7 separate regions of the Homo sapiens genome follow, and all the other regions are linked to region 1. Evidence: promoter capture Hi-C in 16 types of primary human blood cells and fetal thymus (Javierre and others, 2016). All regions are on one chromosome and are shown on one strand. Each heading gives the region's core, a stretch centred on a gene start or on the middle of the fragment in contact. The rest is flanking DNA. Distances are from core to core; before and after follow the strand shown. Region 1 holds the start of PLGRKT (plasminogen receptor with a C-terminal lysine). Region 2 has its middle 8.3 kb from the start of JAK2. Region 3 overlaps JAK2 (Janus kinase 2). Region 4 overlaps JAK2 (Janus kinase 2). Region 5 overlaps JAK2 (Janus kinase 2). Region 6 overlaps JAK2 (Janus kinase 2). Region 7 overlaps JAK2 (Janus kinase 2).

Region 1 (4,203 bases), core at 1,209-3,708:
TCAAAAGTTGCTGAATAAAAATCTATTTTTACTGCTACAGCTATTGTCCAGCTTTGATTTTCCTTAACAAGCCTCATCAGCTGCCATATTGCCTTGAGGGGATGTCAGTTCAGGCACATTCTCACCCAGAAACTAAATTGTAATATTTATCTCCACCACTACTCTTTATGCAGGGTAATAGGAAAAGAGAGTCAGGGAAGAAGTAATTAACATTTTAAATGGAGAGCTACTATAATTCCTGCCTCTAGAGCTTGTTGCAAGGCTAAAATTAATAATCATAGCTTCCTACTCATTTACTTATGTATGTTTCCCCTGCCCTATGCCAACACCTAGGTAGATCAGGATTTTTTTATCTGGTATGCTTCAACACTTTAATTTCTTCATGATCTGAAATTTCTGCATTACTTCAGTTATCTGATAATCATTATTATGGCACACGGCAGTATTAAGAAGTGCCCAGTGAATCTCCAGGTGTCATGCATAGTTCTTCTTGCCCTCAATATATAGATGTAACCCAATTTCCTTTTGGTATTTGGGATGAATCATACCATTCTGTCACTGTGAGGAATCAAAGTGACCAGAGGGCAGTTTCAGCTTTCGAATCAATGAATTGAAATTCAATTCAATTCAGTGACGGGGTCTTCTAGTGGCAGCATTCCTTCCTTTGGATCTAGGCTTCCAAACACAATAAACCCAAGGTTGTAGAAATGGTGTGCTGGAATACTATGCAGCCATAAAAAATGATGAGTTCATGTCCTTTGTAGGGACGTGGATGAAGCTGGAAACCATCATTCTCAGCAAACTATCGCAAGGACAAAAAACCAAACACCGCATGTTCTCACTCATAGGTGGGAATTGAACAATGAGAACACTTGGACACAGGAAGGGGGACATCACACACCGGGGCCTGTTGTGGGGTGGGGGGAGGGGGGAGGGATAGCATTAGGAGATACACCTAATGTAAATGACAACTTAATGGGTGCAACACACCAACACGGCACATGTATACATAGGTAACAAACCTGCACGTTGTGCACATGTACCCTAGAGCTTAAAGTGTAAAAACAAACAAAAAAAAGAAATGGTGTGCTGGATATTTTCTATTTCTCCCTCCAGGCATTGTGCCTAGTAGGCTGACCTCTACAGACTACACAGACCTAGCTCCACTGTCTTCTGGCTTCCTGGTGGATCCAGCCAGCGGAAGACCCCAGCTGGATATCAGAGCTGGGAGAACAGAGAGGTGGGTCTTCTCCACTCTGTCCCTGCTTTGGGCTGACGTCTCAGCACTGGCTACAACTATAGAATCTCACCTTACTTGGTGAAAAGTTGGCATTGCTTGCTTTCCTCTACTGAACGACACGGTTCCAGTTGGTTACTCTCTCGTACAGCCACAGCTACCGCTCTCGCTCTCGCCTGGTTTTAGTAACTGCTTCCTTCCCCCACCCCTCAGCCCTATAGTTACTAACAGCTCCCCGCTGTTACTGGTTACTACTGGTTACGGAAGGCGAACTATGTGCCCGACACTGTGCTAAATGCCCACATATATTATCTTTTAGTCCTCACAATCCAATAAATTAGATGGCTTTAGTCCTGTTGCAGAGGTGATAAATTCAGAGTGACAGTGACAGAGCTAGAAATTGAAGGTAGGTGTGTTTATGCTAGAGTCTGTGCACTCAAACACGATTCCTTACTTCTTGCATCAGTTGTTAACCTCCCTTCAAGAGTGTCAAACCTCCTGGTAACCCGCCCATTCCCTTAACTGGAAATGAGGGTGCTGTTGCAATTTTCTCATCCAGCCATTCCACAAATGGTATCTGGAATGTGGGACCCACAGTCCAGAATCCTGAGGGCTGCTGTTGAGAGCATCAAGACGCGCCCAGGAGGTCAGGGCGGTGTGCACTCACACGCTGAGCCTGGAGAAAGTTAGACGCCTTCTCCACCGCTGTGGTGGTTAGCAGGGACTTTCCTGAAGGCCAGAGACTGGTGACGTTCATGCTATTTTTCCAAGCCATTTGGTAGCAAAGAACAGAGTGCCAACAATTCAAGCATTCTCTCAGGCTGGGAGAGAGACGTGGCTTATTCAAGATAGAAATTGCTGGTGAGGTTGAGGCGAGACCGACATCTCTCTGAGCAGCAGGGGAGAAAGACGGCTCTGTTCAAAAAAGAATGGGTAATTTCAGTCAATTCTCTTCTTTCTCGTTTCTGTCTTATCTTTATGACTTTTTAATAGTGCCAATTTAACAGATGAGGGGACAGAGGCCTTTAATTGAGAATTCCACTCCGCTTCCTCTGCCTCATCTCAAAAATCTGGCAGCTGAGTCGCCGCGGCTTTGAATTTGCCTCTTTTGACCTTCCCCTCCCACCTCTGGTAACACTGAGCCTGGCCCGGAAGGACACACCCGGCTTCTGGCGGAAGTGCCGGCTCTTTAAAGAAGCTGAGGGCTGCGCGAATTGGCTGAGGTGCGTCATCTACTGTGTCTGGGCGCCAATCCCGACGCTGGGCGGAGCGAGGCCCGGTCCCTGCAGCGGGCGAAAGGAGCCCGGGCCTGGAGGTTTGCGTACCGGTCGCCTGGTCCCGGCACCAGCGCCGCCCAGTGAGTGAACACCGGCCGCAGGCGGGTGGGGAGAAGGGTCAGCCCGGCCATGTCAGTCAGCGCGATCTCCTGGGCTCCGGGCTTGCCAGGCAGCGCTGGGCGCCCGCTCCTCGTGAGCGCCGGCTCTTGGCTCTCGCACTGCCCCTGGTGCTGATAGGTATTGCCAACTTCGTTCCATTAGAGCGCGTTCTTGTCGCCTGGCGTGGACTCCGGATCTCTCCGTAGCTTTAAAATAGAGTTGAGAAAAACAGGCACAGTGCTCTCAACAGAAATCAGCACACTATTGCGGGGAATACCTAAATTACAGTAACTGGCCTCAGGGAGCAAGGGCGGTGTTAATTACAGAAAACCTCCGGAAGCTGTGGGCTCTGGGCTGGAATTTGCAAGGGGATGTGGCTTAATTTCAATGGGATGCAAATATTGAAAATGACTGTGGTGAGACGATCAGTCATACATTCAGGCAATGTGTCATCTGATCGGGAAATAAGTCAGCGTGGTAATCCCGATGACAGAATTCATGCAATTAATTTTTTATGTCCCCCCAAGTAAAATCAAATCTAGGTACTCACGGGTGACCGGAAGAAAGGTTGTCTGGAACTTGCAGGCACCACTTCTCCTCCCCAGAAATACACCTTCCCATAGTAATCTATAGCTCACCTGAGGCAGGGCTGAAGCATTAAAGACCCCTTCCAAGATCTCAGAAGGAATCAAAGGGAAAATGAAGACAGAGGGATTGAAATCAGCATTCTCTGCAAAACATCACTCTGAGACACAGTGATGTTTAAAATTGTATAAGTAGCAAGACATTTTTTTTTACCCCTGGTGAAAAGTGTTAGAATTTTTAAAAGACTTAACTTATACAAGTGAGTGAAATCAAAGTTATCCCTATTGCAAGGTCAATTTTGCTTATTTTCTGATACATATTTTGTGAGCAAGAGGAGATAGCTGAAAGTGTTCTGGACACCCTACGGAATATTCCCAGACTTTGGGAAATGACTTTGCCAGGAATGGGGAAGTTGGGAAAGGAAAGAATGTTGAAAATACTGAACTCCAGGGTGAAATTTACAAGGTGTGATGCATTTATTTATTCTCAGGTGTGGTTTCCCATAAGGAAGCTCTTCTTCCTGCTTGGCTTCCACCTTTAACCCTTCCACCTGGGAGCGTCCTCTAACACATTCAGACTACAAGTCCAGACCCAGGAGAGCAAGGCCCAGAAAGAGGTAAATCTAAATACTAACTTCCCAGACAGTGTTTCTTTCCCAGATGATTGACATGAGGACTCTCTCTTTTCAGGGGAGATCCTAACCCCTTACAAACAGGAGCACTTGAAAGCACACAGCTCTGTGATATACAGGGTATGTGGAGGAATAGTACTAGAGTACAGTTGTTTTCTTTATAAATGTTTGCAGCAGGTGTAAAAATTTAGTCATCCACTCCTATGTTCAGAAGAAAAATAAGTAATGGCAAGTGGCCTGAGCCACAGTTTTTCTTGTATCTCTCATGCTTTGTGCAAATATTTAGGGGAAGTAGACACCATGGAGACTATCAAGATGGATAATATCTCGCTCCTAACCTCAGGCAGGTTCTGGTCTGCTGTTAGAGATGAGTC
Region 2 (4,203 bases), core at 840-3,339, 460 kb after region 1:
TAGCAATTGTGGAAAATCCAAACAACATAGAAGAAAAAATGTACAAAGTGGAAATTTCTCTTGACCCTCTTCTCCCAGCCCTCTTCAATTTCCAGAGGCCACCATTAATAACTATCTGAGATTTACTCTTTCAAACTTTTTCCAATGCATTTTCTTACATATCTCCTATAGATATAGTTTTGAGCTTGGTAAATAAATAAAATGGGTTATTCTACACATGTTTTTCTGTTAACATTTTTTTCACTTAGAATACCTTGGAGATACTTCATGTCAATATGTATTGCTTTTCTCATTCATTTTAACTCTTATACTGTGTCAGTAAAACAGGTGCTAATAATTTATTAAATAATTTATTTATGAACATTTAGGTTTCTAATTTCTCCAGTTACACAGTGTTAAATTTGAAGGCATTGAACATGCATTTCATGGGCAAAAATGTATTTCCTGGGATAGACACTTAGACTCTCTGTACCAAAGGAAATACAAATTTAAAATTTGTTGACTACTGTCAAATCAACTTCCAGAAGTTCCACAGTAGTATATCAATGCTCATTTCTCTATAATCTCACTAACTCAATATTATGAATCTTTAATTTTAGGTAATTTTAGTTCCAAAACACACTCATCCCAGTCGTTTGACCAGTATTTATTAAACGCCTGTTATGTAACGGTACTCTGTAAATGTTAGAAACTCACTAGTGTGTTACACAACCACTCTTTTACCCATCGTTGCCTCCATTTTTGCCTTGATTACATTTTAAAGTAGACACAATAATATTGACTATAAAATTCATCAACCATACTGATCAAGTAATTATCCAATTATCTTCAAATATGCTTTTGAATCGTACAGATTTCCTGAACCATTTTTCTTACAGGAGGAAATGATTCCTTTGGGAAAATGCTGGAAAAATACAAAGACCAGAGATTGTTACTAGCTGGGAGATTTTAATCTGTTACTCAATTTTTCTAAACTTCTGTTTTCTAGTCTCTACAATGAGAATAATAGGGGCACTTGCATTTAGGATTGATTTGAGGTTATAATGAGATAACATGTAGAAAACACTCAACAAATTCCTGATAACAATAATAGGTAACATCACAGTTCATACAACATATCAGGCATCTTCAAGAGTTTTATATGTATCAAATCATTTGAGCCTCACCACAAGGCTATGAGGTGGTTACTTGCATTATCCTCATCTCAAAAGAAAGTGAGGAACAAAAGGTTAAATGTCTTTCAAGTGTCTCTCAGAAATCCTGCTGGGCTAAGACTGAACCCCAAAGGGCCTGGCTGCACAGCTAACTCCTCTAACAATCACACTCTACTATCTCCTGAATAGACAAGCAAGTAATAAATATTATTTCCTTTACTCTTCTTGCTTATAGCTGAGCCTATCCCAAGTATACACCCCAACCCACAGAATTTTAAACGTGGTGATGGAAGATGATTCATTAAATTCATAAGCTTCATATTAATATATAGGCAATCAGGTAACAATATTTATGTATAATATATAGCAAAGGCTTCTATCCATGGATAGATTTCTTATTTGCTGGAATGGCTCCCAGATGCTATACTGTAGAGGAGTGGCTCTCAAAATGTGGTCCATGGACAGGCAGCATCAGCATTACCTGGGAACACGTTAGAAATGTACATTTTTGAGCCCCAACCCAGACTTTCTGTATCAGAAACTCTGGAAGTAGGGTCCAGCCATTTGTGTTTTAACAGGCCTTCCAGACAATTCTGAGGCACACTAAAGTTCAAGAACCACTGTTGTAGAGAATCCTTGTAATGGGTAAAGTAAAAGAAAATAAATAAGCCAAAGAACTTAGGTTGCCTTTCATAACAGGTGATATGGTGGGGAGGGGTTAGGGAATAAAATATAAGTGAGGCACAGATGCAGTACCTTGACTTGAAGAATGAACAAAAAGAAGAGATCTTTCTTTCAAGTTGCTTCAGTATGTAGATGGGAATAAGAAGTGGATGGCAATAGAGAATTTTAAAACATTTTGCTTTAACTTATAAAGTGGACCTACTTTCATTCCCTTTATATAAAACCTTAAATTTTTTCTTCAAGTATTCTTGATTATAACGCTTGTGTTTTTAAGGCATTTACTGTATATGCCAGACCACATGGGAGCCCCAGTTTTATCAGGGCTACACTAAGTTGCAGTGCAACAAATTTAAGTCAAATAGCACTGAGTACACTTATTACAAATCAATCAAATTCTAAAATCACAAATGTTGCTGCTGAAAGACCTTACAAATCATAGAGATAATTGATTAGATACAATCATCAGATATAAATACATGTACAACAAGTTATGGAGTGTGCAGAGATGAGGCAGCCCAAGAAATATACCTATTTGTTACCTGGTAGGGTAGGCAGAGGAAGAGTGTATTCTATAAGAATCCAAAGAAACCCTTGTAGACCATGAGGGCAGAACTATATTTGTTTTATTCCCTATTGTATATCCAGTATCAATGCAAGTTTGACACATAGTATATGTTAAATAAGTGCCATTGTATAAATGAATTAATGAATAAGAACAATAGCAGGACAAAATGAGGATCAGTGGCCAAATCCTCCGTATTAATAATACCCCTAAGCTATCAGGAAACAGGTTAGCACTTAACTCCCTGGGCAGAGGTCTCGCTATAGAAAAAATTCACCTTAAGGGAAGAACTTGAGGTGCAGAAGCTTAGCCTGGATAAAATGACTGGGTATTAGGAGGTGTGATGACTGATAATTGGTATTTAATACCAGAGGTTATGTCAGTTTGGGTTTGAAATGAAATTCAGGCTATTTCTGTACTTTATTTTCTGTAAAATAGAGATAATAATACTTACCTAATAGGGTATAAAACCAAATAATAAATACCAACATAAGACGGTATTGCTCAGGATAGCCTTCCAGCCTAGCCATCCACCACCTTCCAGCAGCGAGAAGAGGAATGGGGAGAGAGGGCTATAATTAAGAGCATACCAAATAAAATACAGATATATCCAGAAACTTTATAAGAAAATAAGAGCTCAAGACAGGGCTGTTTGTGGCTCAGTTATAGAATGCAAACAGGAAGGCACTCGACTGGGAGACCTTGGTCTGAAGTTGTAGAAGGCCAGAGTTGGTGTTTCAGGGAAGCCGACATGCATAATTACAAGAGATATGGCAGTAATCACAGCTGCAGCCAGGAATCAGAACAGTGACTCTCCCTGGCCCCTCTCCCACGTTCTCACATCCCCGTGGCTCACTTCATCACCTCCTTAGGTGAGATGCAATTACAATTGAAATTTCAATGCCTCTCCATCCTCAACCTACACCAAACACTTAATTAGTTTATTTCCATTGCACTTATTACCACTTCACATACAATATATTTCATTTATTTATTTGTCTGTTTCTTTCAAGGAGAGGTGAGTTCCAGGTCTATTTTATTCATTACCATATATACCTAATACGTAGGACAGTGCCTGGTACAATAAATATTGAAATGACTGAAATTTTTATTATTTGGTTTTATACCCTATTAGGTAAGTATTATTATCTCTATTTTACAGAAAATAAAGTACAGAAATTGCCTGAATTTCATTTCAAACCCAAACTGACATAACTTCTAGTATTAAAGTTGCTATTTGAATCTAGATCTGTCTCCCCACAAAGTATGTTCTCTTAAAGTAGATGTCATTTGAGTTTGAAAAATGAATAGTGCCAGGCATGGTGGCTCACACCTGTAATCCTAGCACTTTGGGAGGCCAAGGTGGGCGGATCACTTGAGGCCAGGAGTTAGAGACCAGCCTGGCCAACATGGTGAAACCCTGTCTCTACTAAAATACAAAAAATTAGTCAGGTGTGGTGCGTGCTTGTAGTCCCAGCTACTTGGGAGGCTGAGGCAGGAGAATTCTGTGAACCCAGGAGGTGGAGATTGCAGTGAGCAGAGATCATGTGTCACCGCACTCCAGCCTGGGCAACAGAGTAAGACTCTGCCTCAAAAAAATATAAATAAATAAACAGAATAATATTGAGACTACTTTTGTAACTTACATCATTTCTAAAAACTGGCATTCTGTTCTGTAGCTATAATCTCCACATTTATTTTATTCTTAGTCCTACAATATAAGACATTCAACATTCACAAGTCATTTTGCTATAGTTTCTCTGTTCATCTCTCAGTTCATCTTTTATTAGTTTATTCAAGAAG
Region 3 (4,203 bases), core at 503-3,002, 440 kb after region 1:
TTAGCCAGGCCTAGTGGCACTCGCCTGCAGTGCCAGCTACTCAGGAGGCTGAGGTAGGAGGATCACTGGACCCCAGGGAAGGCAAGGCTGCAGTGAGCCGTGATCGAGCCACTGTCCTCCAGCCTGAGTGACAGTGAAACCATCTCAAAAAAAAAAAAAAAAAAAAAGAACAAACTAACAGAAGAGTAAAAGGAGAGAACTCCCACCATGAAGACTGTTCCTAATACAGTGTTACTTTTACTGACCACCATAACCAGAGGCACTGTGAATCAAACTTACTACAATGGAGGTATATTTCATTTTACTTCTAATAATTTTAAATTTTCATAATAGTAAATATAATCCAATTATCGCAGAATACTTACCTTTAAAAGTCTGTGGCAGGGAGGGGTAGGGGTGAAGGCAAGGATAATTTTTTTTTAACAAGACAGGGTCCTAAATGGTGGATTCCAGCAATATCATTACAACTGAAGATCTGATGCAATGAAAACTATATTTCACATCACCCCCGCCCCTCCTCAAAAAAACCAAAAAATCTACAATACCTCATGTATTTAAAAAAATAAATTATACATATAAATAAGAGAATCAGAATAGTATACTTCTATTTATGTATTTATTTTTATTTATTTATTTATTTATTTTTTGAGACAGAGTTTCACTCTTGTTGCCCAGGCTAGAGTGCAATGGCACGATCTCAGCTCACTGCAACCTCTGCCTCCCAGGTACAAGCGATTCTCCTGTCTCAGCCTCCCAAGTAGCTCAGATTACAGGCATGCACCACCACACCTGGCTATTTTTTTGTATTTAGTAGAGACAGGGTTTCACCATGTTAGTCAGGCTGGTGGTGAACTCCTGACCTCAGGTGATCCATATACTTCTACTTAAAAAGCTTAAAAATATTATTCTAAATTTGACCCTCTAAAATAATAAGTTGTAAAATCCAGACTTCCCTGTAATTCTGTCTTCTCTAACCTGGCCAATTAACCACAGATCTAATAATTCAATGTTAAATGAACTTATCCTTAATGGTTCCAATCTCAAATGACTTGACCTATCCTATGGATTGCCATTATGAAATGACAAGCTTCCCTCAGTAGCAAATTTGATACAAATAAAACTATACTGTGAATTTTTAACAATTTGAGGCCAAAAATAGACTAATAAGAGCAGACACATAAGTTAGCAAATGCCCATTCAGTAAGTACAAAAAATAACTTAATACTTCACAATAAAGTTTAAAAAAAAGGTAAAACTAAAATGGAAAACCAAGGTTAAATTCAAGTTTAAAATCAGAAATAGAGAATTAAATAGAATAACTAAAATGAATAATTGGCAAAAAGATCTGCTTCTATTCCTAAATGCTTGATTTATTCATTTTATTTTCAAGTACTTGAATGCCTCCCATATGCTAATAAATATTATACAGGACTTGGAAACAAATAAATAGAAATGTTCACTACCCAAGAACTCACAATATGGTTTCAGAGGAGCCATTTTTAGAATGAAACAAAGTCCAGAAATAGATCCAACTACATACACAATTTAAAACACCAGCATTTCACAGCAGCAGAGAAAAGAAGGATTATCTGACAAATAGTATTGAAACTGGACAACCATCTAGGGGAAAAAAGTTGCGTCCCATCTTATATCTTGCATCAGTATAAATTCCAGATGGAACAAGAAAACAAGGGAGAATCTCAAAATATAATTTCAGGGTTAGAAGGAACCTACCTAGATGCACAACAACAAAATCACACTATCTACAGAATCAAAAAGATAAAGAGACAACCTAGGGAAAACAACTCATTTCGCAAACTCAAAGCTATCTTCCTTAGTATAAGAGCTCCCACAAAGCAAAGTAAAAGGACCACAAATCCAATAGAAAGTGGGCCAAGATATGAGTGAAGAGTTCCCTAAAAAAGGAGAATAAAAAGCAAATTAAAATTATAATGAGATTCTATTTTTCACGTCTCAAGTTGGCAACAATCAAGTCATCTGAAAACACAATGTTAGTAAAGGTGTAGAAAAGCATAACTTGGTATTTCTATGTCAATTTGGCAATATTTGTTGAACTTAGTAACATATACCACTTTTGAATCAGCAACTCCTCTTCTACTTAATCTTTAGTTATAGTCACACACACACACACGCCCTGACAAATGTACAAAGATATTTACTACTTTTTGAATTCTAAGACATTTAAATGTGTTCAAAAAATAGATAATTTTTTTATGAAAGAATAAAAAGAGACAAATACAGACAACTCTCAGAGAGTTTTGTTCCAAAGGGGAGTGAAAAATGGGGCCATAGCTTGAAGAGATGTGGAGTCAAGTAATGATTTAAATTGGGAATTGGCAGAGCACAGTTCACACATACCAAATTTAGCCAGCTGCCTGTTATGTAAATAAAGCTTTATGAGAACACAGCCATGAGCCACGTCTGTTCATTTACGTATTGTCTATAACTGCTTTTGCACCACAAAGGCGGAATTGAGTAGGTGCAAGAGAAACAATCTTGCCCACAAAGTCTAAAATATTTTATTTATGATCCTTAATAGAAAAATCTTGCCAATCCCTGGTTTAAATCAGTAATTCTCACAATCTAGGCCCCAGATCAACATTATCAGATCACCTGGGAACTCACAGATGCAAATCCTCAAGTCCCACTCCAGAGCTAATGAAACAAACTCTGGGGGTGGGGCCCAGCGGCAATTTGTGTTTCAATAAGTCCTTTAGGTAATTCTGATAAGAACCAGTGGGTTAGGAAACAGTTCTAGTACAGTTAATCCTCACTGTCTTCAATAGGTTCTTGGAAACTGTGACTTTAAGTGAAACAATGTGTAACAAAATCCATTTTTCCATAGGCTAATTGAGATAAGGAAGTTCCTATGGCATATTTATGGCCACAAAAACATCATCAAACTTCTAAGTAAAGATTCCAAACACTCTGATTATTAAACACTGAAATAAATGTGAGCTATACACACATTTAAGAAAGACTAATAAAAACAAGTAGGATAATTATTAACCCAATTCAGTTCAGTCACGAGTGGCTAGAGCCTATCCTAGCAACTCAAGGCACAAGGTGGGAACCAACCCTAGACAGGACATCACCCACTGCAAGGCACACTCATCCATACATGATCACTCAGTCTGAGACCATTTAGACACACCGATCCACTAACATATGCATCTTTGGAATGTGGGAGGAAATTGGAGCACCCGGAAAAACCCACACAGACGTGGGGAGAATGTCCAAACTCCACACAAACAGTGGCCCCAGCCAGGAATCCATTTTTTTCTTATCAACGTTATGAAGAAATGACAGTTATTCAAGGACCTGCTATATAGCCAGGAACAGATAAGGACCCTTTGTGTTCACACATGTAAAGGGTCTTGAGGAAACTTCATGGGAGCCTAAGAGCCCTCAAGGAGACTGTCAGTGAGGACTTCAAGCAAAGTGAGAGAAATGATAGTGAAAGCTGAATAAGAGGACACCCTTGTTACATACTAGGGCAAAGTTTAGCAAAACTGTCACCTACATTAACATGGAAAATAAAATACATACCTGACCTAATGAATTAAGGAGATTCTCAGCAGGAAGTTAAAGCAATTTGGCTTCTTCTAGCTGCCCTTATAATTGAGAGAACAGAGAGATGAACTAAAGAATAAGCTATTCATTTTTTGAGTAGAATTTCAAGGAGATGTAATGGACTCAGAACAATCTTTTCAGCCAGCAAAGTGTCAAATAAAAAGGGCCTCAGAGCAAAGATCCAATCTAGAGTGTGATTATAAGATCCTTTCTTAAGATCTAAATCAGTACCTCATAGATCCTTTCAGACGAAATATTATCTAAGGATCTTAAGGGTGTTGTCCCACAGCAGACTCACACAGAGCTTAGGGGAGGAAAGAGTTCCTCTCAAAAGAGATTTGTGGGTATGGCAGTACAGATTATAAACTTACACACAGGAAGTCCACAAAGTTTTTAAAGGAGTTGTATTAGCTTGGAATGAAAGGGACAGTTGCTATATAAAAGGGGGCCTTTGGACTCTGGAGCACTACAGGCAGGAAGCAAGCTCAGAAAGCTACTCTTACAAATACAAAGCAATTTATATGGGTTGGGTGCAGGGGTGGGGGAGATAAATAATTCAGAAGGTAAACCCAAAAACAGAAGAAGCCTATGTCCTATTAAGAATGACTT
Region 4 (4,203 bases), core at 841-3,340, 390 kb after region 1:
AGATAAATAGTTACTAAATAGTCATTAGGTTTAGGACACTAGACTAAATAATGTAGGGATAAGAGCAATAGATGACATGATTCTCAAACTGGAAGAAACTACAATCTACATAGAAAGATTGTGCCAAGACTTTGGATGACAGCATGGTTTCCAAAGCAGAAATATTCCACGATAGCTTAAGTCTAGAGATGGCTTCATATTTATAACATTCATCTTCAATGGGTCAAAGCTTCTGTTCTTCAACTGTGTTCCCCTGAATTCCTTCAGTTTCTATGTAACGACATCTAAGATACTCTTCCTCCAACTATGTTCTACTATAGCCTGGCATACAGCAAGTATTCAATAAGTAGCTGTTGAATGAATGAATGTGTTTTTTTTTTCCTTTGGGCTTTGGAATCTTCTAGATTTCTGAGTTCCTAAAATTATACCCTATGGCCTACACCCTTAGGTTAAGACCTAACAGACATCTGAAAGTAAAACAAGAATATTTAAAACCAAAGAGAGAAATACAGAAATTGATACTCTGCAAATTGGGTATGTAACTGTTTTGATGACATGGCAAAGAAATGACTGAAGCCAGTTATTGGGAGAACAATTTCAAAAAAGGAAGCTTTAACCACACTCATGATGTACTCAAATTTTTAATCTGGGAAGTATGTAATATATAAAATACATATTTGCCTTCAAACTTAAACCATTCTTATATATACCTTTTTAAAAAGCAGTTTTATATTAGCCATGATTGTCAAGTTCAATATGCAGAAGAATAATTTGAAGAATGCAGAGTTTGGACCATTTGTATAAGAATACCCTAGAGCATCTGTAAAAATTCATATTTGTGGGCTTCAACTCAGATTTACTGAATCCAAATCTCTTGGATTAGGACCCAGAAATCTTTGATTTTAACAGGCTCCCCCACGTGAGTCTAATGCAAATAAAATATACACCACCATTTGGGAAATACTTATTCAGGTCATTTATATAGCCAACTGGAGGATCTTCTATCAAAAAGTATGCCTCCAGGTGTTTCTTCTGTTCCTCTGAACTTCCCTAGCCTTCTCAGAATAAATGAAATCAAATAATAGATATTTAATACCTATGATATTTCCTGTAGTACAACTCTTTAAATAATTTCACCTTACAAAGTGTGTTTTACTCCCAAGATATAAAACTTACCCATATGATTTTTTATTATAGGTTGACTATCCCTCTTGCAAATATCTGAAATACGAAATGTTCCAAAATCCAGAACTTTTTGAACGTCAACATGATGTTCAAAGGAAATGCTCATTAGAGCATTTTGGATTAGGGGTGCTCAACTGGTAAGTTCAATGCCAATATTCCAAAATCTGGAAATATCCAAAATCTGAAGCATTTCTGATTCCAAGCATTTTAGATAAGGAGTACTTAACTAGTATTACAAAATCAAAAGGCATGGGTAAACACAGAAAATATATACGAATTATATAAAATCTCTACTCACACTTATGTGTAAGGATTTGCAAAAGAAAATTACCTGATAGAGTTATAGATGGCCAGTGGGGTTTGATCGTTTTCTTTGGCTATTCTCATCATATCTAACACTGCCATCCCAAGACATTCTTCCTGTGTTTCATGAGTCACAGGTACTTTTATCCATCCGTGCACAAAATCATGCCGCCACTAAAACCAAAAATTTGAAGGAAATATCTCATCGTAAGTTTCATTATCATGTTTTAATCTATGATTATATTTTAATCATAATTTTCAGAACATATGCATTTACAAGATACAAATTGGCCAGGCTCAGTGGCTCATGCCTGTAATCCCAGAACTTTGGGAGGCCAAGGCATGAAGATCACTTGAGCCCAGGAGTTTGAGACCAGCCTGGGCAACATGGCAAGATCTCATCTCCACAAAAAATTTAAAAATTATCCAGGCATGGTGGCACATACCTGCAGTCCCAGCTACTTGGGGGGCTGAGGTAGGAGGATCTCTTCAGCTATGATCACACCACTGCACCCTAGTCTGGGTAACAGACCAAGACCCAGTCTCTAAAATGATTAATAAATAAATAAATGGCATAAATTCCTCCTTTAATTTTCATTCATTTTGCGATACAATTTTAATAAAAGTTCATTTGCAAATGGAAACTGATTTACACTGGGTTCCCAATTACAGAGTACATATAACATCAACCTATTTCATTAAATATATCTTCAAATTATATCTTCTACATAAAAATTACCTAAATTAAAGTAGATATTACTGAGTTAAATATATACTGAACTCCAATTATGTTGGAAGTATCATACTACAAGTGGTGTTGGATACAAAGAAATAGCCATGTGCCCCATAACAATGTTTTGGTCAATGGCAGACCACATATATAACGATGGTTCCATAAGATTGTAATACTGCATTTTTACTGTATCTTTTTTATGTTTAGATATGTTTAACTACACAAATACTTACCGTTGTGTTACAAGTGCCTACAATATTCAGTACAGCAACATGCTATATAAGTTTGTAGCCTAGAGCAATAATAGGCTATACCATACAGACTAGGCATATACTAGGCTATAACATATAGGTTTGTATAAGTACAATACATGATATTCACAGAACAATAAAATTGCCTAACGACATATTTCTCAGAATATATCCCCATAAGTAAGTGACACATGACTGTATAAGATGTGGTCTCAGTCATCAAGGGGACCAAAATTTAGCTTAGAAGCGAAACAGAAGCAAATAATTATAACACCAGACATGATATAGGAAGCACCACACAAAAGCTCCTTCAGGAACTTGGAGAAAGTTAAGATTATATTCAGCTGGAGTAATCAAGGAGGGTTTCATGGAAGATTTGAAACTTCACAGTGTGTTTAAAAATAAAGAAATGTATGATGGACACAAAACAGGGTAAAGAAATAGAAGGAATGACACACACACAAAAGCACCAGATATGTTCAGATGCATAAACTAATTTGATTAGGGCCTGAAGTTTATGTGAAGAAATAATGTGGATTAAAACTTAGAAAAGTAAGTTGGGGTCCGACTGCAGGTACCCTTGAATGACCTGATCCTAGAAACTATGGAGATCTGTTTTCATCATGTCTCTTCCATTGGCAGAGTAGTAGCAATGATAGAAGTGCTTGAAGAAAATAAAGTGTATTTACGGAGGCTCTTTAAGAGGCTGGTGTATGGCTCAGATACGAAATAATAAGGATCTGATCCAGGAAACAGAAGATACTAAAAGATTCTGAAAAAAGGCTGATAACTTTATTAACTATATATTGTCTAAAGAATGAAGAAGAGAGAAACACAGAGGTTCTACGATTTTGACCTGGAGGATTTAGGAATACAGATAAATCTGACTGAACATGTAATGGGAGAAAGAAAAAGAAAGCAGAAGTACAAATATTCTAAACATAATACCAATTTTCTTTGTAGAAAAAAAGGTAAGAGCCATATTACCTAAAATAACAATGCGAATCAAGGTTTTAAACCGGACAAGGGCCCTCTATACTCTACATCTGTATTTCTCTTCTCTTGATGTAATAACTTGTCTCATGAAATTAAAGCTTTACTGGAACCTTTTTAAACTAATTTTATTAAAAGAAACATATTTAAAAGTATATTTGCTTTTCTATTAATAAAATATAGAAGATATTTTCATATAAGAAAATAAACTATTAAGAACCACACCATCAAATAATCAGTATCACCCAAAACAAAGGCCTAAACGTTGCTAATACAAAATTAATTCAGGGTAGGAGACAGATTTTTGCTCAATTTTAAACACTTATTTCACCACACTTTTGAGAACAGGCAAGTAAGTTATACTGTTTAAGTAGAAGATGATCAATGACTTGGTAGATTCTTTTTAATAGCCTGCCTTGGTTCCCTATAGAACTAGTAGATGGGCTGGGTGCAGTGGCTCACACCTGTAATCCCAGCACTTTAGAAGGCCAAGGCAGGCAGATGACAAGGTCAGGAGTTCGAGACCAGCCTGGCCAACATAGTGAAACCCCATCTCTACTAAAAATACAAAAAATTAGCCGGGCGTAGTGGCAGGCACCTGTAATCCCAGCTACTAGGGAGGCTGAGTCAGGAGAATCACTTGAACCTGGGAGGCAGAGGTTGCAGTGAGCCGAGATCACGCCATTGCACTCCAGCCCAGGCAACAGTGGGAGACTCCATCTCAAAAAAAAAGAAAGA
Region 5 (4,203 bases), core at 1,113-3,612, 370 kb after region 1:
GCATTCTTAATTTCTTCAGATCTGTCTTGAGGTTCACTACATCTCTCTTCAGCTATAAGTAATTTACTTTTCATCCTGTATATTCTGTTTTAATGTCAATGAGGATATTTATCATTTCTATGCCTTTTTCCTGACATCTTTTTTGTTTGTTAAAACAATGTCTTGTTATTTCTCCGTGGTTTCAATTCCTTTTCTATCTTTAAACATGTATATGTATTTTATAGTCTGTATCTGAAAATTCTGTGATAGGAAGTTCCTGGAGTTCTAATTTTGATGTTTGTTGGTCTACTGACTCTTAATTAATCCTGCATTATTTCCTTGTATGTTTCTAAATTTTCTATTAAAAGCTTGTGTTTGCAATGCTTTTATCTGTGGGAATTATGGGTTGCCTAGGTTAAGAGTATGTGGTTCCGAAAAGATTTTTTTGTTTCTTCCAAGCACCACACAATATTAGGAGAGTACCACTTTTAATTTAGGATTTCTCAGTCTATGTAGGTAGTATAATGAAGCCCAAATTCCAAAGCTTATGATGACAAATTCTTAGGAGAGACTCCTTTTCCTCACCAGAAGCGCAGTTAAAAATGACAATATTCCTTTTCTTCTCTGCTTGCTAGTGGGTGAATTTTTCACATTCTATATATTGTTTTACTGAGGATGTATTTACTTAAGTGTCCTGGTTTTACTCAGGGATAGTCTCACTTTTAACTCGTGGCCTTGCACAGGTCTGAGACCTGGCCCTTTTAAATTGCTCTTAAATCTTAACCCCCTTGATAAATGTGGCTGATCATCAACCCTCACCACCTGACTGCCAGATTATCAGATCTTATGTACTACAGTTGACCCTTGAACAGCATGGGTTTGGACTGCACAGGTCCATTTATATGTGGGTTTTTTTCAATAAATCCAGTGGGCCCTCTGTACTGGCAGGGCGGGTTCTGCATCTGCAAGGAAACTCAGTTGGAAAATATAGTATTTCTGCATTCCAGCCTGGGTGACACAGCAAGTCCTGCTCTAATAAATAAATAAATAATTTTAAAAAATAATTAGTTATTTAAAAAAAGAAATACAGTGTTCATAGGATGCAAAACCCATGTATATAGAGGGCCAACTTTTCATATCCACAGGTTCCACTTAAGTATCCTCAGATTTTGGTATCCATGGGTAGTCCTGGAACCAATCCCTCATGGACACTGAGAGATGGCTGGATTTTTTTCTCAGTTTCTTCTTTATTTTTAACCCCTTGAATTTCCCTTACTTTCTTGAGAACTTGGGAGTTGCGATATAGGTCTTTGTAGATTTTTAATTTTTAATTTGAGATTTGTGAAGAATCATTTTTAAATTTCCAAAAAGAAAATTAAGATTCCATTCTTAGGATAATTAAGATAATTAATTTTGCTAACATCTAACACAAGGTTGGCATATTTTTCATAAGAAAAATATTTAAATCACAACTAAATTTGTATATAACAAAATAATTCCAATGTCACATGAATGTAAATCAAGAAAACAGATGTTGTTTTAAAAGGACAAAAAAGACAGTAATGAGTATCTAATGACTTACAAATATCAAATCTTCATTTCTGATTTTGTGAAACACCATTTGGTTCATATGAGTAGGCCTCTGTAATGTTGGTGAGGTTGGTACATCAGAAACACCATTCGTTCTGAAGACTAGAAGGTTTGATTTATCTGAAAAAATAAAATACATATATATCACTTCAAAATACACTGAAAGTATGAATTGCTCCAAAGAGGAGTAAAATGAAATGTGTTCTACGTATAAGAAATGCTTAATAACTCCTAATTGTTCTTTTTTTATAATAGAAAATTATTTTAGGGGTCAACTCATTGAACTTTGATATTTCTTCTTAGTTACTTCATACATTCAAAATTATAATCACTTCCTTAACTAATGTAATTTGGATTTTGATGTATTCCTGCCAGTTATTTCATTAATTCAAAATTATAGTAACTTCCTTAACTCATACAATTTTTCAGGAATTTTAATAATTTTTAATAGTAAGGCTCATTATTTCAAGGAATTTCCAACTTTACTGTCTTTATTTTTAAAATACAGAAATTAAAATCCTCGAAGTATATGAAAATTTTTACTTAAAACAACATAAGAATTTAGTAGTGAGATCTTCCAGTTCAATAAATGACATCATACCACACATTATGTTTAAAATCTCATTTTAGAATAATTGAACTTCAAGTCACTTCTAGACCACCAAAACCAAAGTAAACAATCTTATTTGATGATGCTTGTACAATAGAATAAGATAAAATTAACTTTTAGAGCTGCTTCTTTCATATATCCTTTGAAATCAATGTACTGAAGATACTTCACGCCACATAAACAATCCATGACCAGTAATTTAAAAATAACTAGAAAATTATCTTACCTTTTGGCTTTGGGGGACAGCATTTAGTAAACTGGAAAATTATATTGTCTGAGCGAACAGTTTCCATCTGGTAACAATTCAAAAGATCTTTAAGACTGCTGAAGTTCTTCTTTGTCCCACTGAGGTTGTACTCTTCATTCTCATTTTTTGTAATCAAACAGTGTTTATATTCAATGACATTTTCTCGCTGTATAAGTTTAATTATAAAGAAAGGGAGGGATAGTCACAATGGACATCACAGTGATTATTCTGACAAAATGATATCACAAGAACAAGCAACAGAATAAACATTTGAACCATGAATCCGATGTAGTGCCAGTATAGTGATAGAAGTACTTAGTTCCTCAAAAGGGCAATTTACAATTTCTCAGCCTACAAAAGTGGTTTAAAAGTTGATTTTATGAAAAAGCATGTAAGAAGGCAATGATAATTAATAGCAACAATACCATCCTTAATAGTTTTCCATCATTTATAAGATAAAGCCTAAAACAAATGTAGCATATAGAGCCTTCCATGAGCTGGTTTCTGCCTCCATCTCCAATCTCAGCTCCTGCCACTGCCAACATACAACCTACGTTCCAGCCATATTAAATGACTTAAATCATTTCAAGCAAATGCCATGCTGCTTCATGCCTTGATAATTCTTCATGCTATCTTTCTACCTAAGAATGTATACCCACTTCTTCTGAGCAATGAACCTTTATTCATTCATCAAAACTCAGTTCAAGTACCACTGTTTCTAAGAGGTCCTCTCTAATGCTCACCTCTTTGCACAAGCAAAGGTGAACATACAGCCATTCCACTGCACCACCATTGTATTTGTATAATTATCTTTAATATTACATTTTTAATATTTTGCAGTTTTTAAATATTTGTCTTATGCACTATATTATGAACTTGTTCACCTATTTTTAAGGTGCATTTTATAAACATATTCATTCTACTCAGAAACATTTATATAAAATCTACCAATACCTCAAGGTCAATCAGGTTCTTCCTATGCCAAATAACCTTTCTTGTTTTTTTTTTTTTTTGTTGTTGTTTTTTTTTGAGACCGTGTCTCGCTCTGTCGCCAGGCTGGAGTGCAGTGGCACAATCTTGACTCACTGCAACCTCCACCTCCCGGGTTCAAGCGCTTCTCCTACCTCAGCCTCCCGAGTAGCTGGGACTACAGGTGCGCACCACCATGCCCAGCTAATTTTTGTAATTTTGGTAGAGACAGGGTTTCACCATTTCACCACATTGGCCAGGATGGTCTCAATCTCTTGACCTCGTGATCCACCCGCCTTGGCCTCCTAAAGTGCTGGTATTACAGGTGTGAGCCACCACACCTGGCTGCCCTTTCTTAATAATTGTAAACCTGTCTGTTACTGTCTATATTTGCCTATGCTAGATAATTACAATGTTCGATTTAGAATTTTTTGTATATTTGAAAATTTTTGTTTGTCCAGTAGATAAGTTTCCTGAAGGTAGGGCTGTAGCATAAACTCTATAATACATAGCTCTCATATTAGGCTTGGCACATACAGTGAACATAAAATATATATATATATTTTTTTGAATTCATACTTGAATATAATGTACTATTATCTGTTATAGTAACAGGATACTTTGAAATTAGGATAGATTACCAGTTTTACACAAAGGTAAAGTGATGGCATAACCTCCCTTCTGTAAGTAATCTACCCTCTACATATGCCAAATATAAGTTGCATTTTATAAAAATTAAAATAATTGAATAACAAAGTTCTTATTTTTCTCTGTTTTAAAAAAGCAAGATAAATTTGCAAGCTTCTAT
Region 6 (4,203 bases), core at 805-3,304, 350 kb after region 1:
GTGACTATATTTTCAGTTATATACTTGAAGTCAGTTTTTTAAAAAACCTAGACCATGTAGGCTCAAAGTTAAATCTCTTAATTACACAGTTTAGAAGGCCACACAATAAGGTGGATAGACCCAGGACTCTCAAGACCCAGGACTCTCAAGTCAGATTGGAACTAGAATATTGATCCACAACTTGCTCTCTCTGTGACCGCGGACAATTCAGAACTCCCTAAAATGAGGTTTTTCATCCTTAAAGTGGAGAATAATAAAATGTCTATCTCATGAGGCTGTTGTGAGAAATTATTCCAAAACACATTTTAGAAAACAAAAGTAGGAAATAAGTTTTATCTTCTTCCCCTCTACTTAACAATGTGTTCATAAAATTTATTTTCTAGTGCCACTATATATTCCTTGAAATTAATAATTTTTAATTATTGTATATTGTCACACGAATGCACTAATTTTAACATTGGAAACATAAATGTACACTAAGAAAAATTTTTAAATACAGTCATGTCATTGCAATAATATTCTTATAAATAAATATTTGTGTACATCTCTATTAAGGATACTTAATTAGCTGTTCAAAAGATAAGAACATTTCAAAGGGACTTGATACACACTGCATTAGAAGCTGTCTGGCAGTGGTTACCATTTGATGTTCCAATAAGCAGTGGGAAAATGTATATTTTATCACATCCCTGCCAACAATGATCATTATACTTTTTCTAAATCCTTGTCACTTTGATAGGCAAAAATCAGTCTCACTTTTAATTCGGAATGCCTCTATTTTTCTTATGGAAGAAGGAGATGAAGAAAAATACAGCGAAAAGAAAGATTTAAGATAGAAAACCAGAAGGGTTTGAGATAGGACCAGGAAAGAAATCAAGTAAGGGAGTGATATGGTTTGGCATTGTCCTCACCCAAATCTCATCTTGAATTGTAAACCCCATAATCCCCACATGTCATTGGAAGGACCTGGTGGGAGGCAACTGAATCATGCGGGTGGTTTCCTCCATGCTGTTCTCGTGATAGTTCTCATGAGATCTGATGGTTTTGTAAGCATCTGGCATTTCTCCTGCTGGCACTCATTCTCTCTCCTGCTGCCCTGTGAAGAGGTGCCTTCTGCCATGACTGTAAGTTTCCTGAGGCCTCCCCAGCCATGGGTAACTGTCAGTCAATTAAACCTCTTTCCTTTATAAATTACCCAGTCTCGGGTATGTCTTTATTTGCAGCGTGAGAACAGACTAATACAACCAGTAAGAGTCATAAGTGCCTAACCAATGTTGGAAACCAATTTTCAATGAAAACAATAAAGATTTATATCTGATTTTTTTCTTTTAGTGTTTGAGGGATGGAAGCACAATTTAAAAATGCTAAGTTGTATTGTTCCCGTACTAGGAAATAATAGGGAAAGTGAAGCAGATAATCAAGGGAAGGGGGGGTGATATAATTGTGGATACCAGCGAAAGTAGTTTAAAAGATATGAACATTTAAACGCGCTTGATACAAACTGCTCTATGAGAAGCTCTCTAGAAAGGGTCACCAATTTACGTTCCAATAAGAAGAAAGTGTGAAAGACACTAGCAATACCAAAGATATCAAAAAGAAGGCATTTATGTTGAAAAAAGCCAAAGGCTATAAAGTTATAGTCAGACAGGGAGATTTCAGGGTAGGAAATTTTCTAAGTAAGGTTATTACATGGGATTATAGAGTTCAAAGGAACTCATTTAACATAATCATAACTTTGGGGTAGAGAAGCCAAGGAATTTTTTTTTTAAGTATTGGAAGGGCATCCAAAATAATGGCAGGAGGTAAGGTGATGAGAAAACAATGAGTACTAAAAGTATTCAAGGAATGTGGACCAAGATGTTAGCTAATGATGGGAAGAGAGGAAAATAAGAATCATATTCAGAGAAGATTGAGAATGATGCTGATAATTTCAAAGTAGTCGCACTAAGATCCTGATCTCTGAATCCCATATCTGCACCATGGAGGAAAAAGGAATAAAGAGGATTTCAAAACCGCTAGGAGTGAAGCGAGAAGGTAAAGGATATAAAGAATATAAGAGGTTTCAGGCTCCAGGTCCTGGCAGGAGGATCGCGGGCCAGAGGCGGAGCCACCATCCTACCGCGACTTTCAGACTCCGACCGTGGCCTCGCGCTGGTGGCGGGGGCGGCGCGGCTGTTGCTGGAGACCGGCGGCGTGGAGACCGCTCCCCGAGCCTTGCGGGGCCGCCGGGGCCGCGCGCCGCTGCCGATGCCCGCGCAGGCTCATAGGCAGAAGGGACTTGACTTGTCTCAGATACCCTATTTTAATCTTGTGAAGCATTTAACACCTGCCTGTCCAAATGTATATAGTATATCACAGTTTCATCACACAACCCCGTACAGCAAAACACACAGTGGTGAGAAATACACCGATCCTTTCAAACTCGGTTGGAGAGACTTGAAAGGTCTGTATGAGGGTATTAGAAAGGAACCGCTCATATCAACAACAGAACTTAAGGAAATCTCTGAGTACTACTTTGATGTAAAAGGAAAAGCCTTTCGATCAATTATTGTGGTACTAATGGCCCGAGCATGTAATATTCATCATAATAACTCCCGACATGTGCAAGCTAGCCAGCGCGCCACAGCCTTAATTGCAGAAATGATCCACACTGCTAGTCTTGTTCACGATGACGTTATTGATAATGCACGTTCTCGAAAAGGAAAACACACAAGATCTGGGGTGAAAAGAAGGCTGTCCTTGCTGGAGATTTAATTCTTTCTGTAGTATCTATAGGTGGGGCACAAACTGGAAATACAGCTGTTATATCTATTTTAACCCGAGTTATTGAAGATTTGGTGTGTGGTGAATTTCTTCAGCTCGGGTCAAAAGAAAATGAGCATGAGAGATTTGCACAATACCTTGAAAAGACCTTCAAGAATACTGCGAGCCTGATAGCCAACAGTTGTAAAGCAGTCTCTGTTCTAGGATGCCCCGACCCAGTGGTGCATGAGATCACCTATCAGTACGGAAAAAATGTAGGAATAGCTTTTCAGCTAATAGATGATGTATTCGACTTCACCTCATGTTCTAACATAGGCAAACCAACATCAGCTGATGTGAATCTCAGGTTAGCCACTGGTCCTGTCCTATTTGCCTGTCAGCAGTTCCCAGAAATGAATGCTATGATCATGAGATGGTTCAGTTTGCCGGGAGATGTAGACAGAGCTCCACAGTATGTATTACAGAGTGATGGTGTAAAACAAACAACCTACCTTGCCCAGCAGTACTGCCATGAAGCAATAAGAGAGAGCAGTAAACTTCTCATCCCCAGAAAGAGACGCCCTCATTCAACTTTCAGAAATTGTACTCACAAGACATAAATGACAACTCTTTCTGTTCTTTCTGGCAGCTATCTCAGACTGTGCCTAAGAATTTTGTGGAATACACTTTGTTTGCTTCATGTGCAGATAACCAAAAATCATTTTAAAAGATATCAAACTTATTGATGGGCAATTTGTTTTATTGCAAAAGTTTTTTCAGAAAACTTTTTAAATGTAATTAAACCATCTGAATCTGTCATTCTAGTCCTATAAATTCTAATTGAGGTGTCTTGATGGTTATATGTGGTACTGTTTACACTGTTAATATCCACATGTAAGGCTATTACACAAATAATCCATGTTAAAATTAATTTAAAAAAGAATATAAGTATATGTGGGCATGAGGATAAAGGAAGAAAGCAAAAAACACTCTAGATTTCAAATAGCAAAAGAAAAGATTTCACAATAGTTTCTTGGCTCCTTTTACAACAGTATGAAAATATTTTTTAAAAAATAAAAAAATATACCATTATTTCTCTTGGCTTAAAACATATGAAAATAATTTTAAATATATATCCCTCTTTGGAATATTTTCACCATACCACTAATTGAAAAGGATAACAAAGGGATACAGTAGCTAATTTTTATAAAATGGAAAGGTGACATGCAATCATTTTTGTAGGAATGGCATTTTGATTGTTTCAGTAAGGCAGTACAAATATCTAGACAAACCACTGAACACATCAATTACTTCAAACAAACAAAGATGAAAGTAAAATTATGGTGTTAAATACAGATAGGAAATATCCACATTAAAATATCTATGACTGACTAATGATTACACCATTTACCTTTCATTTCCTACAAACTAAATTACTAAGAAATATATTTCATTGTACAT
Region 7 (4,203 bases), core at 794-3,293, 310 kb after region 1:
TTACAAAATCCTTGCTAAGGAATTCTCATTAATGTCTTTTACTGGTGGCCTCATGAAGAAAAACTTACTAAACTTTGAAAGTTTTGAGCAGATATTTTCACATCTTTGCTGGCTAGCATCATGATTTATATAATAATGATATATGTAATAATAGTCCACAGCAATGTGAAATATAAAACTTTGTTCTGTAAATCTACTTTGGTCTCAGAATGAAGGTCATTTCTTTCATCCAGCCATGTTATCCCTTATTTGATCCACTCGAAGAGCTAGATCCCTAAAGGAGGGGCGTTGATTTACATTATTGTTCCAGCATTCTGTCATGATCATATAGATCTGTAAAGGAGAAAATAAACCAAAATTAAATGAACACTAAGGGCCATCTTTTAATTGGTGGAAGACATTAATTTTCAATACAGGGCACATGTCATAACCATGCCTTGTTCCACAGTCATCTGATTATGCTGTTTATCTGGAAGCTCCGCACATTAAATTTCAGGAAGTGAACTGAAGTCCTTGAGTAAAAAGTAAAAGAAAATGCATGACTACCCTGGATTAAAAAAAAATTGTTACCTCATCTGGGCATCCATCTGGTCTTGGTAATCTTCCATTATTCTTCAAAAGTTCTATCAAATGGAACACGATCATCTGTCCTTGTTTGTCATTGCCAATCATACGCATAAATTCCTAAAACAAACCCACTTTCAATATTTTTTGTACATTTAATTTGTAGCAAAATTCTTTCTCAATTTCCTCCAGTCAATGGGAAAAAATTTAGTATATGTGTGCTTTTGTATGTTTTCAAACCTTTTCAAAACAAACTACTTTTAGGATCAAAAACATAAGGCTGTTAAATATGGAACTTCTATAATTTCCATTTCCATAGCTGTAATAAACTCAACACAAATCCCCTGAGGAGGGCTCAAAACACATGAACTAAAAACATATTTCCTTTGAGTTTTTTGTTGTTAAAAAACTCATATTTTTATCATATTACATTTCAATTGAAATAAAAAGTTGAATATAAAAGAGAATATAAGAAAAAATGAATGAATAAGCATAAATACAACAAAGAAAACTTTCATATGTCAAAGTTTATAAAATTAAAATCTGAATTATAAGCTAGGAAAATACTTAAACATCATTTACTTATTTTCAATATAGACAGCTCTTATAAATTGGGAAAAAAAATTACAAATATAAAGATAGGCAAAGCACAGAAGAGATAATTCACATATATACATACCCACCCTAAACACCCAACAAATATATAGTCAACCACATTAAGAAAAGAAATGGAAATTAAAATATATATAACTTCTCCCCTATCAACTTGGCAAAAGTACATAAAAATATAATAACCAATAGTGGCAAATGATGAAATGTACATCCCTATGCATTGCTGTTGAGATATAATTTGGCACAGCTTTTCTAGAAAGCATTTTGAAATTAAAAAAATTTTAAAATAGTTCATAACTTTTACTTATACTTTTATTCTAAGATAATTATCAGAGATAAATATAAATATTTATGCATGAGGATGTTCACTATGTTCACTGAAGTGTTACTTAAAAGACTGAAGAATGGAAAATGATTGTTCAGACATATATAGCCTTATGATGGAATGCTACTCAGCAATTAGAAAACATATTTGCAGTACATTTTTCTAATACAGTAAATTACCCATGCTGTAATACTTCATGAAACAGAAGGAGAGCAAACTGCACAGTATGACCTTAATTTTATAAAATAATATATATTTATATAAGTGAACTTTTATAAAAGTTATAAAAGTTTTATATACTTCTTTGTATATACTTTTATACACAAAATGAAGCCTGAAAGGTAACATACCACAATATTGAGGTGGTCTTCTCTGAGTAATTGCATTAGAGATGATTTTTATTTTTTCATACTTTTCCATATTAAAAAAAATTCTATGATGACCAAGAGAAAAATTACTTTGGAAGGTTTATTTTAACTTATGCAATAATTCCTAGAATGAATTAGCTTACTGGATTTAATAAAAGTAATATTAAGAGACTGTACTAACTAGCTTCCCAATATCCCCTTTTTAAAAATTCAAGCTAGTTTAGGAATAGGTTTGGGATTATTTTGTTTGATATTGCCTTAAAAATAAGCAATAAAAGCTCTAAAGTGAGTCCTAGGCTTACTATTCTTTGGATAAATCCTTTCTCATGTTAAAAAAAAACTTGAATGTATGTTCTTGTTGATTTTGTCAAAGATCAGTTGGCTATAAATTTGTGGCTTTATTTCTGGGTTTTCTATTCTGTTCCATTGATCTATGTGTTTGTTTTTTATATGAGTACCATGCTGCTTTGGTTACTGTAGCCTTATAATATAATTTGAGGTCAAGTAATGTGATGCTTCCAGCTTTGTTCTTTTTGCTTAGAATCGCTTTTGCTATTAGGGCTCTTTTTGGTTCCCTATGAATTTTAGGATTGTTTTTTCTAATTCTGTGAACAAATGACATTGGTATTTTGATAGGAACTGCATTGAATCTGCAGATTGCTTTGCGCAGTATGGGAAAGGACACCCTTTTCAATAAATGGTGCTGGTAAATTGGATTGCCATATGCAGAAGAATGAAACTGGACCCATATTTATCACCATATAGAAAAATTAACTCGATCGATTACAGACTTAAATGTAAGATCTGAAACTAGAAAAATACTAGAAAAAAAACCTAGAGAAAACTTTAATGGAAATGAGTGTAAACAAAGAATTCATGGCAAAGACCTCAAAAGCATAGGCAACAAAACCAAAAATAGACAAATGAGACTTTATTAAGCTAAAAAATTTCAGCATAGCAAAATCAATAATCAACAGAATGAACAGAAAACCTGCATAATCGGAGAAAATATTTGCAAACTTTGTATCTGACAAGGAACTACCATCCAGAATTTATAAGGAACTCAAGCAATTCAACCAAAACCCCCTAATAATCGTGTTAAAAAGTGGACAAAGGAGATCAATAGACATTTTCAAAAGAAGACACCCAAACTGACAAGAGGCATATGAAAAAATGCTAATCACTAATCACCAGAGAAATGCAAATTAAAATCACAATGAGATATGCCTTATTCCAGTCAGAATGACAAAAAAAAAAAAGAGAAAAAATTACCCCAGTGAGATATGTCTGACTCCAGTCAGAATGGAAAAAAAAATGAGAGAGAGAAAAAATAACAGATGTTGGCAAGGGTGTGGAGAAAAGGGAACTCTTATACACTGTTGGTGAGAATGTGCATTTGTACAACCTCTATGGAAAACATTATAAAGATTTCTCAGAGACCTAAATATAGAACTACCATTCGATCCAGCATTCCCACTATGGGGTATCTACCTAAAGGACAAGAAATCACTGTATCAAAAAGATACCTCCACCTGTATGTTTATTGCAGCATTCTTCACAAAAGCAAAGACATGGAATCAACCTAAGTGTCCATCAGTGGATGACTGGATAAAGAAAATGTGGTATACATACAAAATGGAATACTATTCAGCCATAACAACGAATGAAATTATGTCTTTTGTAGCAACATGGATGGAGGTAATTATCTTAAGTGAAACAAATCAGCCATAGAAAGACAAATACCACGTTTTCACTTATAAGCGGGAGCTATATAATGTATACACATGAACGTAGAATGTGGAATGATAGACAATAGAGACTTGGAAGGGTGAGCCATTGGTGGAGTAGATGCTGAGAAATTATTTAAGGGATACAATGTATGTTATTAAGGTGGTGGATACCCTAAAAGCTCTGACTTCACCACTATGCAATGTATGCATGTAGCAAAATTGTACTTGTACCCCATAAATTTATAAAAATCAAACGAACAAACAAAAAACTGAAAGTAAATAAAAAGCACACTGACCGCTGGTGGACTTTTACTCTTCTCAATGTATGTGAAAAGTTCATACAGAACCACTCCAAAGCTCCAAACATCTGAGGCCACAGAAAACTTGCTCTCTGTCAGTGATTCTGGAGCATACCTGTAAATATATGAATAACATTTAAAAGACAGTTACTTGATATGTGGACTCTTGATTTTACCTGCAAATCATTGTATAAATTAAAAAAAAAAACATGTAGAGAAAAGAGTTATCACAGCAGGCCTGAGGCTTCTATGATTAAAAGGGCCTTTTTGCCTGGCACCTGTGAACTTAGATTTCAGGAGGGATT

What was found. Contacts are between HindIII fragments. The CHiCAGO score rates a contact against its expected background, and 5 or more counts as called.
Region 2: a contact is called between a fragment that was not itself captured here and the fragment with the promoter of PLGRKT in region 1, in 1 of 17 cell types (neutrophils). The highest score is 6.8, in neutrophils.
Region 3: a fragment that was not itself captured here is called in contact with the fragment with the promoter of PLGRKT in region 1 in 5 of 17 cell types (megakaryocytes, erythroblasts, neutrophils and 2 more); the score reaches 10.6 in megakaryocytes.
Region 4: a fragment that was not itself captured here is called in contact with the fragment with the promoter of PLGRKT in region 1 in 1 of 17 cell types (megakaryocytes); the score reaches 6.8 in megakaryocytes.
Region 5: a contact is called between a fragment that was not itself captured here and the fragment with the promoter of PLGRKT in region 1, in 1 of 17 cell types (megakaryocytes). The highest score is 6.7, in megakaryocytes.
Region 6: a contact is called between a fragment that was not itself captured here and the fragment with the promoter of PLGRKT in region 1, in 1 of 17 cell types (megakaryocytes). The highest score is 7.8, in megakaryocytes.
Region 7: a fragment that was not itself captured here is called in contact with the fragment with the promoter of PLGRKT in region 1 in 1 of 17 cell types (megakaryocytes); the score reaches 5.9 in megakaryocytes.

Annotation. Positions count from the first base shown.
Region 1 is chr9:5,436,180-5,440,382 of GRCh38, reverse strand. PLGRKT (plasminogen receptor with a C-terminal lysine) reads left to right here and starts at 2,458. Exons shown (of 6, transcript NM_018465.4): 1 at 2,458-2,594; 2 at 3,689-3,814. RefSeq lists enhancers at 1,092-1,251, 2,812-2,901, 1,957-3,156. The HindIII fragment of the contact is 16,310 bases long and covers 1-4,203 here.
Region 2 is chr9:4,974,891-4,979,093 of GRCh38, reverse strand. No RefSeq gene overlaps it. Among named protein-coding and RNA genes, the nearest start is that of JAK2, 8.3 kb to the left of the region's middle. The HindIII fragment of the contact is 1,237 bases long and covers 1,471-2,707 here.
Region 3 is chr9:4,992,893-4,997,095 of GRCh38, reverse strand. All of the region lies in intron 2 of JAK2 (Janus kinase 2), which reads right to left. It also overlaps a transcript of INSL6 not described here. Among named protein-coding and RNA genes, the nearest start is that of JAK2, 9.7 kb to the right of the region's middle. The HindIII fragment of the contact is 1,326 bases long and covers 1,090-2,415 here.
Region 4 is chr9:5,048,145-5,052,347 of GRCh38, reverse strand. JAK2 (Janus kinase 2) reads right to left here. Exons shown (of 25, transcript NM_004972.4): 6 at 1,517-1,662. It also overlaps a transcript of INSL6 not described here. Among named protein-coding and RNA genes, the nearest start is that of JAK2, 65 kb to the right of the region's middle. The HindIII fragment of the contact is 2,956 bases long and covers 613-3,568 here.
Region 5 is chr9:5,067,411-5,071,613 of GRCh38, reverse strand. It overlaps JAK2 (Janus kinase 2), which reads right to left. Exons shown (of 25, transcript NM_004972.4): 11 at 2,406-2,592; 12 at 1,562-1,689. It also overlaps a transcript of INSL6 not described here. Among named protein-coding and RNA genes, the nearest start is that of JAK2, 84 kb to the right of the region's middle. The HindIII fragment of the contact is 3,673 bases long and covers 526-4,198 here.
Region 6 is chr9:5,084,158-5,088,360 of GRCh38, reverse strand. The region is part of intron 19 of JAK2 (Janus kinase 2); the gene reads right to left. It also overlaps a transcript of INSL6 not described here and the pseudogene PDSS1P1. Among named protein-coding and RNA genes, the nearest start is that of INSL6, 99 kb to the left of the region's middle. The HindIII fragment of the contact is 5,863 bases long and covers 1-4,203 here.
Region 7 is chr9:5,122,814-5,127,016 of GRCh38, reverse strand. It overlaps JAK2 (Janus kinase 2), which reads right to left. Exons shown (of 25, transcript NM_004972.4): 23 at 3,896-4,013; 24 at 571-684; 25 at 1-333. The coding sequence ends at 226. It also overlaps a transcript of INSL6 not described here. Among named protein-coding and RNA genes, the nearest start is that of INSL6, 61 kb to the left of the region's middle. The HindIII fragment of the contact is 5,045 bases long and covers 1-4,203 here.